Regions from separate parts of the Homo sapiens genome. Here region 2 is linked to region 1. The links are contacts of gene promoters, found by promoter capture Hi-C in human tissues and cell types (Jung and others, 2019). All regions are on one chromosome and are shown on one strand. The core of a region is centred on a gene start or on the middle of the fragment in contact, and the rest is flanking DNA. Distances in the headings are between cores, read along the strand shown. Region 1 holds the start of C16orf89 (chromosome 16 open reading frame 89). Region 2 has its middle 110 kb from the start of LINC01570.

The links. The method cuts DNA at HindIII sites, captures the fragments that hold promoters and counts their contacts. A contact is called where the count stands out against the background at its distance.
Region 2: a fragment that was not itself captured here is called in contact with the fragment with the promoter of C16orf89 in region 1 in 1 of the 25 tissues and cell types used here (dorsolateral prefrontal cortex).

Annotation. Positions count from the first base shown.
Region 1 is chr16:5,063,657-5,070,097 of GRCh38, forward strand. It overlaps C16orf89 (chromosome 16 open reading frame 89), which reads right to left and starts at 2,300. Exons shown (of 8, transcript NM_001098514.3): 1 at 2,045-2,300. The coding sequence starts at 2,252. The HindIII fragment of the contact is 22,288 bases long and covers 1-6,441 here.
Region 2 is chr16:5,502,185-5,508,625 of GRCh38, forward strand. It overlaps a transcript of RBFOX1 not described here. Among named protein-coding and RNA genes, the nearest start is that of LINC01570, 110 kb to the right of the region's middle. The HindIII fragment of the contact is 5,460 bases long and covers 778-6,237 here.

The DNA.
Region 1 (6,441 bases), core at 1,050-3,549:
ACATACGAGGGATCTAGGCTGCACACACCTTATGAGGATCTAATGCCCGATGATCTGAGACCGTCTCCTATCACCCCCAGACGGGATTATCTACTTGCAGGAAAACAGTCTCAGGGCTTCAACTGATTCTACATTGTGGCGAGTTGTATAATTATATATTATAACATAATAACAATAAACAGAAAGTGGGCTGGGCACGGTGGCTCACGCCTGTAATCCCAGCACTTTGCGAGGCCGAGGCAGGTGGATTACTTAAGTCCAGGAGTTCAAGACCAGCATGGCCAACATGGTAAAACCTCATCTCTACCAAAAATACAAAAATTAGCCGGGCGTGGTGGTGGGTACCTGTAGTCCCAGCTATTTGGGAGGCTGAGCAGGAGAATCGCTTGAACCTGGAGGTGGAGGTTGCAGTGAGCTGAGGTGGCACCACTGCACTGCAGCCTGGGCGACAGAGCGAGACTCCGTCTCAAAATAATAATAATATAATAATAATAATAAATAAAAAATAAAGTGCACAATAAATTTAATGCACGTGAATTGTCCTGAAACCCTCCCCTCCACCTCAGTCCATGGAAAAATTGCTTTCCACAAAACCAGTCCCTGGTGTCAAAAAGGTTGGGGACCACTGCAATGGGACGTAGACCCTGCCCACTGGGAGCTCATTGTTTAGAGAGACACAGGTGAGGAAGCCGTTGCTGCTAGTCAAGGATGCTCAATGCTTTGATAGATGGAAACAGTAATGGCTGACAAGTACTGAGCCCCACTGGTAAGATGACATATACACACAATCTCATGAGACACATGTGCATGATCGTGTGATACTCCCATCCACCAGCTGCAGCTGAAGGATGAGGAAACCAAAACTCCACGAGAGCAGTTAACTCAGTGCCATGCAGCCAGTTGGGGGAGATCCAGGATTTGAACCTGGGCAGTCCAGTTCTGAAGCTCTGTTCTAGGCACTGGCACTGCCTTTGCTCCCTTCTGGGCACAGTTCACGGGTGTGGTTGTATTAAGCACTGAATTCCTAGGGAATCTGTTATGGAGCAAGATTATTGAGAGGAGAAGGGGCAGTGGATGTGGGATGTGGCGTGGGTGGAGAAGCCGGGCTCACTGCAGCTGCCAAGGAGTGGGGACCCTGGTCTGAGGCTGTTAGGTGGGGCCGCTTTCCCAGTGAATGCTGCCCAGTCATGATTAAGAGAACCCCCTCCCTTCTTTGCTAAAAGAGGATAATAATAATGGGTGTAACCTCAGGGATGACGGGGAGAGGGCACTGAAGTACCCCATGCAATGCACCTGGGTTGTGCCCACATTGAGCAGATACTTAGTGAACTACAGCTTTTGCTATCACATGCGCCCCAGGAAGCACCCAGCCCTGTGGGAGCCACCTGTGTGCTTGTGTGTGTGTGTGATATGCTTGTGTGCATGCGTGCATGCGTGCTTGTGTGTGTGATGTGCATGTGTGTGTGCGTGCGTGCATGTGTGCTTGTGTGTGTGTGCATGATGTGCGCATGTGTGTGTTTACCTTGGCCTGTCTCCAGCCCCCTTCTTGGGGATCTTATAGCTCTCAAAGCTAAACAAACACTTGACTGTTTTTGCAGAACCTTCAGGAGACTTTGGCTGCAAGTGGAGGAAGTGGGGTGGGAACCCGATCTTGAGGGTCCTCAGTTTTGTCCACAGCCACCTCATTCAAGGGGAGGGGTCTTCCCACAAATATCTGTTAACGGGGCACTCTCCCTGCTCCCCTTGTTCGTGGCGTTGTGAGGAGGGGCTGTCAAATGGATCATTTCATTCTGAGAAAAAGATAATTCCCAAATCCCTTCCCATGTTGCCTTTAAATCTTTCCTACTTCTAAAAAATTGCGTAACAGTTAGCTGGGCCACAGCCGCCAGGAAGATCCAGCCCCTGGCCTCCTCTCTCCTTATAGCCGAGGCAGGCTATACTGGGGCCAGGAGTCTGCCAGGTCCCAGGCGTACAGAGCAGGGCAGGGGACAAAGCTGAGAGCTAGCTTCCCAGTGTCCAGCCAGAGGAATTGGGGCTCACTCACCTTCCAGCACTCGGACCCCCACCATGCCATCCAGGTTGATTTCAGGCAGCCTCTGTTCTAGGAAGACGGTGGCTCTCTCCAGCGCAGACAGGATCAGGTCTGCAATGGTGGCTTTACTTTCAGCAGTGTCCAGCCCAGGCAGTGAGGAGGACCACAGCGGTGGCAGTGCTGTCAGTAAGAGCAGGAGCAGCAGCCCCAGGCTGGCCATGGCCGGCCTCTGCTCACTGCTGGTCACACGCTCAGCACCCTGAGCTCTGGCCAAGCCCAGACTGCCTCTGCACGCCCTCCTCCCACCTCCTTCCCACCTCCCCCTGGCAGACATGAAGACAAGTGGCCCGGCAGGGCTGCCAAGAAGCCTGGGGTGGCCTGGGCAAAGGACTCTGGGAAGGGTGGCTGCAGGGGGATGACGGTTAGGCAGCGGAGGTTAGGCCAGTCCTGGGCGTAGAGCCTGCTGTCCACGGGATGCTGGGGAGAGGGCTGCCCGCCCTGTCCTTCTCAGCCCTGATTCTCCAGGCTCACAGGCTAGATCTTTGATCTAGCAATTGCAATTCAACCCAGAAATCCAAAAGCTCTGAAAGCAAAACGAATTTTTTTTTCTTTGTTTTTTGAAATAGGGTCTCATTCTCTTGCCTAGGCTGGAGTGCAGTGGTTTGATCACAGCTCACTGTAGCCTTGACCTCCTGGGCTCAATAGATCCTCTTGCCTCAGCCTCCTGAATAGCTGGGACAATCGGCATGTGCCACCATGTTGCCTAATTTTTGTAGCTTTTTTTAATAGAGACAGGGTCTCACTATGTTGATCAGGCTGGTCTTGAACCGCTGGCCTCAAGCGAGCCACCTTCTTTGGGCTCCCAAAGTGCTGGGATTACAGGCTGGAGCCACCACACCCAGGCTTTGTTTTAAATAAATTTGAAACAAACTCATTTGAGGGCACGTCTGCCTTGAACTGAGGCAAACTTCCTTAAAGGGGCACCGTCCAATTGAAATAGAATTGGAGCTACAAAGATGAGCCATGTGTGCATTTCGAAATTTCCTAGTAGCCACATCTAAGAAAGCAGCAATAAGCAGGTGAAGTTAATTTTAACGATCTAGTTTATTTGACCCAGTTATTTAAAATATTATAATTACATCTGTAATCAATATAGAAATGATTTGTTTTTATTTTTGTCATACTAAGTCTTTGAAATTGATGAGTAGTTTATGTTCACAACACAATTGTTTTATTTTGTTATTTTATTTTTAAGAGACAGGGTCTCATTCTGTTGCCCAGGCTGGAGTGCAGTGATGTGGTCATAGTTCACTGCAGTCTCGAGCTCCTAGGCTCAAGGGACCCTCGCGCTTTAGCCTCCCAAGGAGCTGGCACTCCAGATGTAAGCCACCATGCCAGGCTAAGCACATTTCAATTCAGACTATCCATATTTCAGGGGCTTGATAGTCACATGTAGCTGGTATACTGGGCAGTGTCTTAGTTTTGTGCTACTACAACAGAATACCTGAGACTGAGTAATTTATAAAGAAAAGAAATTCATTTGGCTCATAGTTCTGGAGGCTGGGAAGTCCAGGTTCAAGGGGTTGCATCTGGTGGGGGTCTTCTTGCTATATCATCCCACGGTGGAGGGCAGAAGGGCACGAGAGCTGGAGAGAGAGAAGAGAAAGAAGCTAAACTCATTCCTTTATCAGGTACACGCTTTTGCAATAACAGCATGAATCCATTCATGAGGGCAGAGGCCTCATGAAAGATTCCATCTCTCAACACTGTTGCATTGAGAATTAAGGTTCCAACATACGAACTTTAGGGCACACATTCAAACCACAGCAGAGAGTGAGGACCTAGCGTCCTTATTGGTTTCATTCAGTGTGAATGCGCATCTGTTTCCTTGCAGAAATGTTAATGTTGGTTTCCTGGGTGCTGTCCCAAACCTTGCTGGGGCTGTTGTATGTATGTGCACCACATTATCTTTCTAAAATCCCAACAATTTTGAATTCAGAAACATACTTGGTCCCAAGGGCTTCAGCAAACAGATTACAGATCTGTAATAATAATCAAAAGAACACCACTAAAGTGTGTATGTGATGCTCCCTATGTGCAGATGCTAGGTTAGGGCTTCTCCACCTTTTAATTTCGTCATTGTTCTTTTTTCTACCCCCGGAGTGTTTTTAGACGTTTTAATCCTGAAAAATCTTTAGTAAGAGGCTTATTGAGATATTATTCACATACCATAAAATTCACCTTTTAAATGTGTACAGTTTCACAGTGGTTTTTAGTATATTCACAAAGTTGTGCAGCCATCACTATCTATCTCCAGAATGTTTTTGCCACCCTGAAAAGAAATCCCATACCCATTTGCAGAAACTCCCTATTCCCTCCTCCCCAGCCCCTACCAACCATGAATCAACTTTCTGTGTCTATGGTTTGACCTACGGTGGATATTTCATATAAATGGAATCATACAATGCGTGGCTTTTTGTGTCTGGCTTCTCTCACTCAGCGTGATGTTTTCAAGGTTCATCTGTGTTGTAGCACATGTCAGTACTTTATTCTTTTTTATGGATGAATAATATCATCTCCCGGGGAAGCCCCTCCTGCTCTGATGATTTAAGAGGATGAGGACTATGGAGATGACAAACCAAAAGTAGACACCTAGGCCGGGCATGGTGGCTCATACCTGTAATCCCAGCACTTTGAGAGGCTGAGGCGGGGAGATCACTTGAGGTCAGGAGTTCAAGACCAACATGGCCAACGTGGTGAAACCCTGTCTTTACTAAAAATACAAAAATTAGCCAGGCGTGGTGGCACGCAACTCTAATCCCAGCTACTTGGGAGGCTGAGGCAAGAGAATCACTTGAACCTGGGAGGCAGAGGTTGCAGTGAGCCGAGATGGGGCCACTGCACTGCAGCCTGGGTAACAGAGTGAGACTCTGTCTCAAAATATAAAATGAAATGAAATGAAATGAAATATAAAATAAAATAAAATAAAATAAAATAAAATAAAATAAAATAAAATGAAAACAAGACACCTGGAGCAGGGCGTGGTGGCTCACACCTGTAATCCCAGCACTTTGGGAGGCTGAGGTGGGCGGATCACTTGAGGTTATGAGTTTGAGACCATCCTGGCCAACATGGTGAAACCCCGACTCCACTAAACATACAAAACTTAGCCAGGCGTGATGGTGCAGGGCTGTAATCCCAGCTACTAGGGAGGCTGAGGCAGGAGAATCACTTGAACCTGGGAGGTGGAGGTTGCAGTGAGCCGAGACGGCACCCCTGCACTCCAGCCTGGACGACAGAGTGAGACTCCATCTCAAAACAAACAAACAAACAAGCAAACAAGGAGACACCTGGGAAACCTCGGGTGGGAGGCTGTGGGAGCTGTGGACAGACCGCATTCTGTTCATCACTCATCCACTGATGAGCCTCTGGATTGTTTCCATGATTTGATTCTTGTGGACAGTACTGATGTTTGTTTACAAGTTTTTGTTCGAAAACCTGTTTTTCATTCTCCTGGGTGTATACGTGGGAATGCCATTGCTGTGTCACGTGATAATTCTATGTTGAACCTAATGAGGGACCATACGACTGTTTTCCACAGTGGCTGGGCCATTTACGTGCCCACTGGCAGAAGATGAGGGTTCCTTATGTACTGCCCCATGAAATTTTATTTTACTTGTTTATTTTTTTGAGACAGGGTCTCGCTTTGTCACTTAGGCTGGAGTGCAGTGGTATGATCATGGTTCACTGCAGCCTCGACCTCCCTGGGCTCAGGTGATCTTCCCACCTCAGTCTCCCGAGTAGCTGGGACTATAGGCACACGCCACCACCATTTTTTGGGTATTCTTTGTAGAGATGGGGTTTCACTATGGTGCCCAGGCTGGTCTTGAACTCCTGGGCTCAAGTGATCCTTCCGCCTCAGCGTCCCAAAGTGCTGGGATTACAGGCATGAGCCACTGCTTTCAGCCTTCATAAAATTTTAATACTGCAGATATACTGCATGCTTGTGTATTGTATCATTATCTGTGCTTTATACATAAAAAGGGTAAGGATGTTTTGCTCCCCAAGAGCCATTTTTGCCCCCTTGGGAGCACCACTGGGAACAGAGGTTCTAGGGGAAGCTTGTCATTGTCATTACTTCTGTTAATCCTTGATCACCCCTCAAGTGGGTGCTCAGTCAACTTGAACAAAATCTGAGGCTCCAAGGGAGATTGAGTGACTTATCCATATATCCTCTTGATTGTTGGAAAGACTGGATCTCATGTGGAATGGATGCCAAGTGAGAAAGCCGGACAGGTGGGCTGGCCCAGCTATGAAACCGCCCCCCTGCTGGGGATGGCTCCGTCCCCTCTCTCCAGGAGACACCACGGCAACTCCCTCCCCGACGGAGGTTCACCTACCAGAGGGAG
Region 2 (6,441 bases), core at 2,258-4,757, 440 kb after region 1:
TGAGATGGCATGGAGGCAGCAGCTTTGGGCAGAAGGATTAGAATATCCTCAGGAAATCTTTAGGAAGAACGGCAGGGATGCCTTTCACCCCATGAAATGGAGAGATGGTCCTCCCGTCCCTGTGTGACTTCTGTGCTGGTGTGTCCCAGTGGATGGGGACACTGTAAGGGTGGGATGTGGACACTGTAGGGGTGGGATGTGGAGAAGGCTCCTGATCATTCTTCCTCGGCTTGCCTGAGGGTCAGGGGGTGGACATGGAGGTTGGACCTCAGGCTCCGGCCCCTAGTGTCCCTGTTCTGGAAGCCCCCTGCTCTGCTTCTCTGGGTCTGGCTGGAGACCTGCCTTTTGTTGCTGTTACTGTAGGTGGCAGCAGAAGCCTGACAAAGTCCATCTTTGCAGGGCAGCGAGAGGGGAGAAAATGCAATCAGGTCCAAGGCGCCTCCAGCCTCTGTTATCTCTGCAGTGGTTAGGCTGGGAGTCGAAGGGGTTAGAACAGGCAGCAACCATATTAACAGAATCCTCTATTGAGTTATAGTCTGTCTGCAGATGTCTGCAGAGTCTGCAGTGCACCAGAGCCTGCCCCCGAAGGCTGGAACTTTATCAGACCATCTCCCGTCAGTTCCAGACTCTTCCGCGTCTCAGGGGACCCTGAGAAATAGCCAGGGCAGGGAGACCAGAGCACAGGAGCAATTCTGATTGAGATCTTGAACAATACAGTCCCTAGAAAGATGGACTCCCCCTGCAGAGGAAATTCTGATCTTGCTACAACGATTGCTTGGATCATTCTATTTAGACGTGTCCAATACACATCTCTCCTAAAATATTTCCTCTTTCTTCCCTGGGGCTTTTCAGATGCCCCATGCAAGTGTGGAAGCTGCATTTCAGCTGGGGAAACAGGGCACAGGAGAGAAGGGTGCAGGCTCTGGAACCACACCCCCAGGGTGGAGCCGCAGTTCTGCCATTGACTGCTGTGTGACTTCCGGCAAGAGAATTAACATCTCTGTGCCACAGTGTCCTCCTCTGTGCAGTACCCCATGTATCTTTGCACTTATTTTTGTTCTTATAGGAAGATCCAAGAGGACCTCTGGTATTACGGACAGAGAGTTGTACCCGTGGGAAGTAATTTCACCACTGTCCCCCACTCTTGAATCTCCCTCACCCCTCTTCTTTTTGGAATAGGTTTACTGAGATATAATTCACACACCATATAATTCATCAATTTCAAGTGTACAAGACACTGGTTTCTTTCTTTGTTTTGTTTTTGTTTTTTGAGACGGAGTCTTGCTCTGTCGCCCAGGCTGGAGTGCAGTGGCGCATGGCGCAATCACGGCTCACTGTAGCCTCTACCTCCTGGGTTCAAGCGATTCTTGTGCCTTGGCCTCCTGAGTAGCTGGGACTATAGGTGTGAGCCACCACACCAGGCTACTTTTTGTTATTGTAGTAGAGATGAGGTTTCCCCATGTTGGTCAGGTTGGTCTTGAACTCCTGACCTGAGGTGATCCATCTGCCTCGGCCTCCCAAAGTGCTGGTATTACAAGCATGAGCCACCATACCTGGCCAAGACAATGGTTTTAAGTATATTCAAAGTTGTGCAACCATCTCCACCATCACTTTTAGAACATGTTCATCCCCTCCCCAAAGAAACTCTCTACTCTTAAGCTATCAAACCCCTATTGTCTGGTCCTCCCAGCCCCTGGCAAACACTCATCTACTTTCTATCTCTACAGATTTGCCTGTTGTGGCCATTTCATATAAATAGCCTCCTTTCTTCTTTGCTGAGGCTCAGCCATGCCCCTCTTCTCATCATGGTGAGGAGAGCTGGCTTACCCTTTGTCTCTGGGGGGCTGGTTTGGGGCCCCTCCAGCCCCTTCCTGGCATCTGGAGCAGCATCTCCAGAGGGCGATGGCTGGGGGCGGAGGGAACTTGCCAACCAGCCTCATTGCTCACAGCACAAGCAGCTTGGCTCAGGATTACTCATTTCAAACTCGATTTGAGGCTCTGCCAAGAGCAGCAGCACCCCTGGAGCATGTCACCTGATTATTCCTACCCCTTCCCTGATCCCTGAGAGCCCAGAGCACAGAGCAGGCCGCCTCCCAGGACCCAACAGCTGCCAACTTTGAGGCAGGGCCTGCCAGGAGCCTGCTGGGCCTCGGACTTGGCTCTGCAACGCTTGCCCAGCCTGGCCCAGGCTCCTGGATAACAAGGAAACCTGGGGCTTTTGTCTTCAGGCCATTGAGAAGCAGTTTCCTGCAGTAGGGCCAATGGCATTGACCTTTCTGACCAAGAGCTGAGGCAGTCACTGTCCACACACGCACGATCATAAAAATGCCTCCATTCACAGATAGGCTCTGCTGACGCCCTCCACGCGCCTGGTGGGTTGGATTGTCTGTTACTTATCATCAAAGGGGAGGGCCCGGTTTGGCTCCCAGCAAGTAAACCAGGCACAAGCACACAAGAGCAGATGTACTGTCTACCATTTGCTGAGCATTTGCTAGACACCAGACACTGCCATAGGCATTAACTTCCATAATCCTCCCTGCAGCTCTGTGGGGAAGGAACCCTCACCAGCCCCACCTTCAGAGGAGGATGCGGAGGCTTGGGAAGACCAAGGGAGTAACTGGCCATGAGCGGTGACGTTGGAGCTGGCATGAGGGCTTGCTGACCCCTGTGGAGAAGGAAGGAGGCCATTCCAGGAAACTTTCAGACTAGGCAGATCTGTAGAGACAGACAGTGAATCCCTAGAGACAGTGAATCAGTGGTTGTCCTAGGGGCTGGGGACGATGGGTTTGGGAGGTGAGAGCTGAAGGGTGCAGGTTTCTTTGAGGAGTGATGAACGTGTTCTAAAGCTGGTCAAGGCGCTGGTTGCATAGCCCTGTGGATATACCAAACACCACTTGAGATGGGCACTTTCAGTGGGGGAATTGTGCAGTGTATGAGTTATAGCTCAGTAAAGCTGTTATTAAAGCAAGCAATGAAAGCTTGACATTGTAGGCTGCATAAACCTCTTGTATGACCCCTTCTTGCCCCCTTCTCCTCTACTTAAAACCTGGAATTTCCACCTCTGTGCTTAACGCAGGGGGCGTTGGGATAACCCTGAACTGTAGGTGGCAGAAACCATTGAACCAAAGCCTGCATTTTCCCTGCTTGGTGCCTGTCGTCTTATTCTGCTTCTATTGCTGCTCCTAGAATCCCAGAGTTTGTTCTATCTCATATTTCAGACTCCAGCTACACATTTTTATAGGGTGGTAGAGAATTGGGGGTGGGTTTAGTGTCTGAGCAACATTTGCAGCCTGAGATTCCAGGGGTGCCCTATGTGGGTGGGCAGAGAGTCCCACCAGAAGCCCTGTCTCCTGCAGCCCCTCTTACCCCTCACAGTGGTCTGGTTTTTGGGAGGAGCTTACATGCAACTACATCAGGCACTGTGCTGAATACTGTCTTCCCTGGGTGAGTGCCTGTGTCTTATCACATACAGAGTATGTCTCTCCTTTCCAGCCTTGAATTGTGTGACAAAAGATACCATCTTACATTGTCCAGGAAGCGGGAGAGGGAAGAGAGACCCATTCTGCCACACTTGTGAAGTCCATGGCTTTTGGAGGGCTGCTTGGGGATACCCCTGGCAGCTGTCTGGTACCTTCTCCCTAGACCGTGGTTTGCGTGTGTGTCTAGAGGGATGAAGCCTCACCCTGCCATGACATTTCTACCAGCAAACAGAGCCCACTCTCACCCTTCCATCCCTGCTCAAAATCTCTCTGCTATAGACTTTTTCTCACCCTCCCCTCCCGCATTGACCCAGATTGTGTGTATATCAGTTAGGGAAGGAGGGAAGATGATGCCTGGATTTCAGGGTATCTCTCAGAGTCCTAGACTCTGAAACCTCACCAGAAATGAGGAGCCCTTCCCTTGCCTTTGAGCCCACACTGCCTCACACACCTCCTCCTGCTGGTCTGCCAAGCTTGCTTTGAAATCATTAATGTGCCTGTCTTCACAGTGTTCCGGGAACTTTCTGAAGGCAGGGTTCCCAGTGTCCTCCCACCTCTCCTACACCAGTACTGAGCACTGTGCCTGCACCAGCAACTTGCTCCAGCCACATTTGCGAGAATAGGATGCTTGGCAGCCTGCAGGCACAGAGACGTAAGTCGCGGATAGCTCCTCACAGGTCGTCCTCTGTCCTTTCTCTCCCTCTCTGTCCTTCTCTGACTCCGTGGACTCTAAACCCCAATCCTTTCTTGGTCTAGTCCCAGCCTTCCAAGTTCAGGTACGTGAACCCAGACCAGAGAAAAACAAACAAATTAGGAATGTCCCCAGTGCAAAATGAATATAAATAAGTACACAAAGGCTTCTGCTCACCCTGCAGCTGCCCACACACTGCTCTGGAGGTGCAGCCAGCCTAGCTCAGCTCCATGGAAGTTAATGATAAATTAAACCTATTAATCACCCCAGGCAGTGGGGCTGGCCTGATCACAGAGAAGGTGGGCTATAGACTGGAGATGACGCCACAGAGAAGGGAGTGAGGTGTGGGTTACGGCTTCCCCAGGGACATCTTGATCTCCAAGACCCCTTCTTTCTTGAAATGTTGAAAGTTTTACCAGTCTGCTCTGTTGGGTACGACCACTGGGTAATTCAGGAGCTTCCACCTTGGGAGTGGGGTCTAAACTCTTCTCCAGCTATAGATCCTTTTAGCATTTTGATACCCTCCATTTGCATTTCCCCCTCCACCCACTCCAATCTGGAGTCCCCCCTACTAGTCTTTCTTCAAGTCTTGACTCAAAAGCCCCGTCTCAGAGACCACCAGATCTCAAAGCCTATTCTGTTCTCTACCTTTTTGTTTTCTTCATAATGGACCCCTGGAGCTTGGCTGCCTGGGTTCAGATCCAGGCTCTGCTGTTGGTTGTGTGCAGGCTCTCTGTGCCTCAATTTCCCTGCCTGTAAAGTGAGGTTGATAAGTAGCTACTTGGGTTGTGGTCAGGATGAAGAAAACAAATTCGGGTGTGTGAATTAGAATGATGCCTGGCACCGAATAAGCAACACCAACCACTGCGGCCACCATGACTGTCATCACTGCTGTTGCTATTATTATACCATTTGCCATGATTGGAGATGGTTTCCTTTATTTGTTGCTGTTGATTTTCTCTCACTGCTCCCCAAGCAGAATGCAAGCTCCATGCGAGGAGGGATTGTCTTGGCTTTGTTCCCCCCAGTTTCTCCATCAGTGGGTGGCACACATAGGTGTTCAGAAAACATGTGGTGCATGAATGGGGGTTGGCGTGGGAATGGGAGAGAGCAGGCAGCTTCCCAGTGGGCTGGAATTGGCAGAGAGCCACGTACTCTGTTTTCTGGGTCTGAAGACAGCATCTGTTGTGGGTTGAATTGTGTCCCCCACCACAAGATATGTTGAAGTCCTAACCCTTCATGCCTGTGAATGTGACCTTATTTGGAAATAGGGTCTTTGCAGTATAATCCAGTTAAGATGAGGTCATACTGGAGTGGGGTGGGTCTTAATCCAGTGACTGGTGTCCTTATAAAAAGATGAACTTTGGAAACAGACACACACAGAGGAAAAAGGCCATGTGAAGACAGAGGCAGAGGTGGGAGAGGTGCAGCCACAAGCCAATGAACCCCAAGGATCGCTGGAACCACCAGAAGCTGGGAAGACGCAAGGAGGGTCTCTTCCTAGAGCCTTCAGAGGGAGTGTGGCCCTGCTGACACCTCCATCTTAGAGTTCTGCCCTCCAGCATGAGAATGCTTATGTGTTGTTTTAGGCCATCTGGTTTGGGGTGATTTGTTATGGCAGCCCTGGGAAGCTCACATGGCATTGACCCATGAGCAAGGTGTCCCATCAGGAGTGGGGAAAAATGTAGAAGGGAAACCCCCATGGACAGTCCCCGGCCCCTCTGACATGCTAGTTTTCTATTGCTATGGAACAATAGTATGCAAACTTGGCAGCCTAATACAACATAGTAAAGTTTCTGTGTGCTGGGGGTCTGGACGTGGTTTAGCTGCATCATCTGCTTCTGAGTCTCACAGACTGCAATGCAGGCATTGGCCAGGGCGAGGGTCTCATCTGAGGCTCGTCTGGGTGGATGCAGTCCTTTGTGTCTGTAAGTCTGAGATCCACTGACATTGCTCAGGGGCCACCCTCAGCTCCTTGCCAACTACCTGCATCTCCCCACTCCAATGCGGCCACTTGTTGCATCCCAGCTAGCAGCAAGGGTGAGAGAGAGACAGAGTCTCCTAGCAAGGTAGATGCTGCAGCCTTCCTGTGGGCATGAATAGAACATGTGGCTGTGTTCTATTCATTAAAAACAAAGTACAGGTCCTGCCCACTCCCGAGGTCGGGTGGGAGATTGCACAGAGTGATTGCACAGAGTGCCACACCCAAGATGGTGGCGGGGACTGCACAGAGCAGTTGCACAGAGTGCCACACCCAAGATGTTGGGGGTG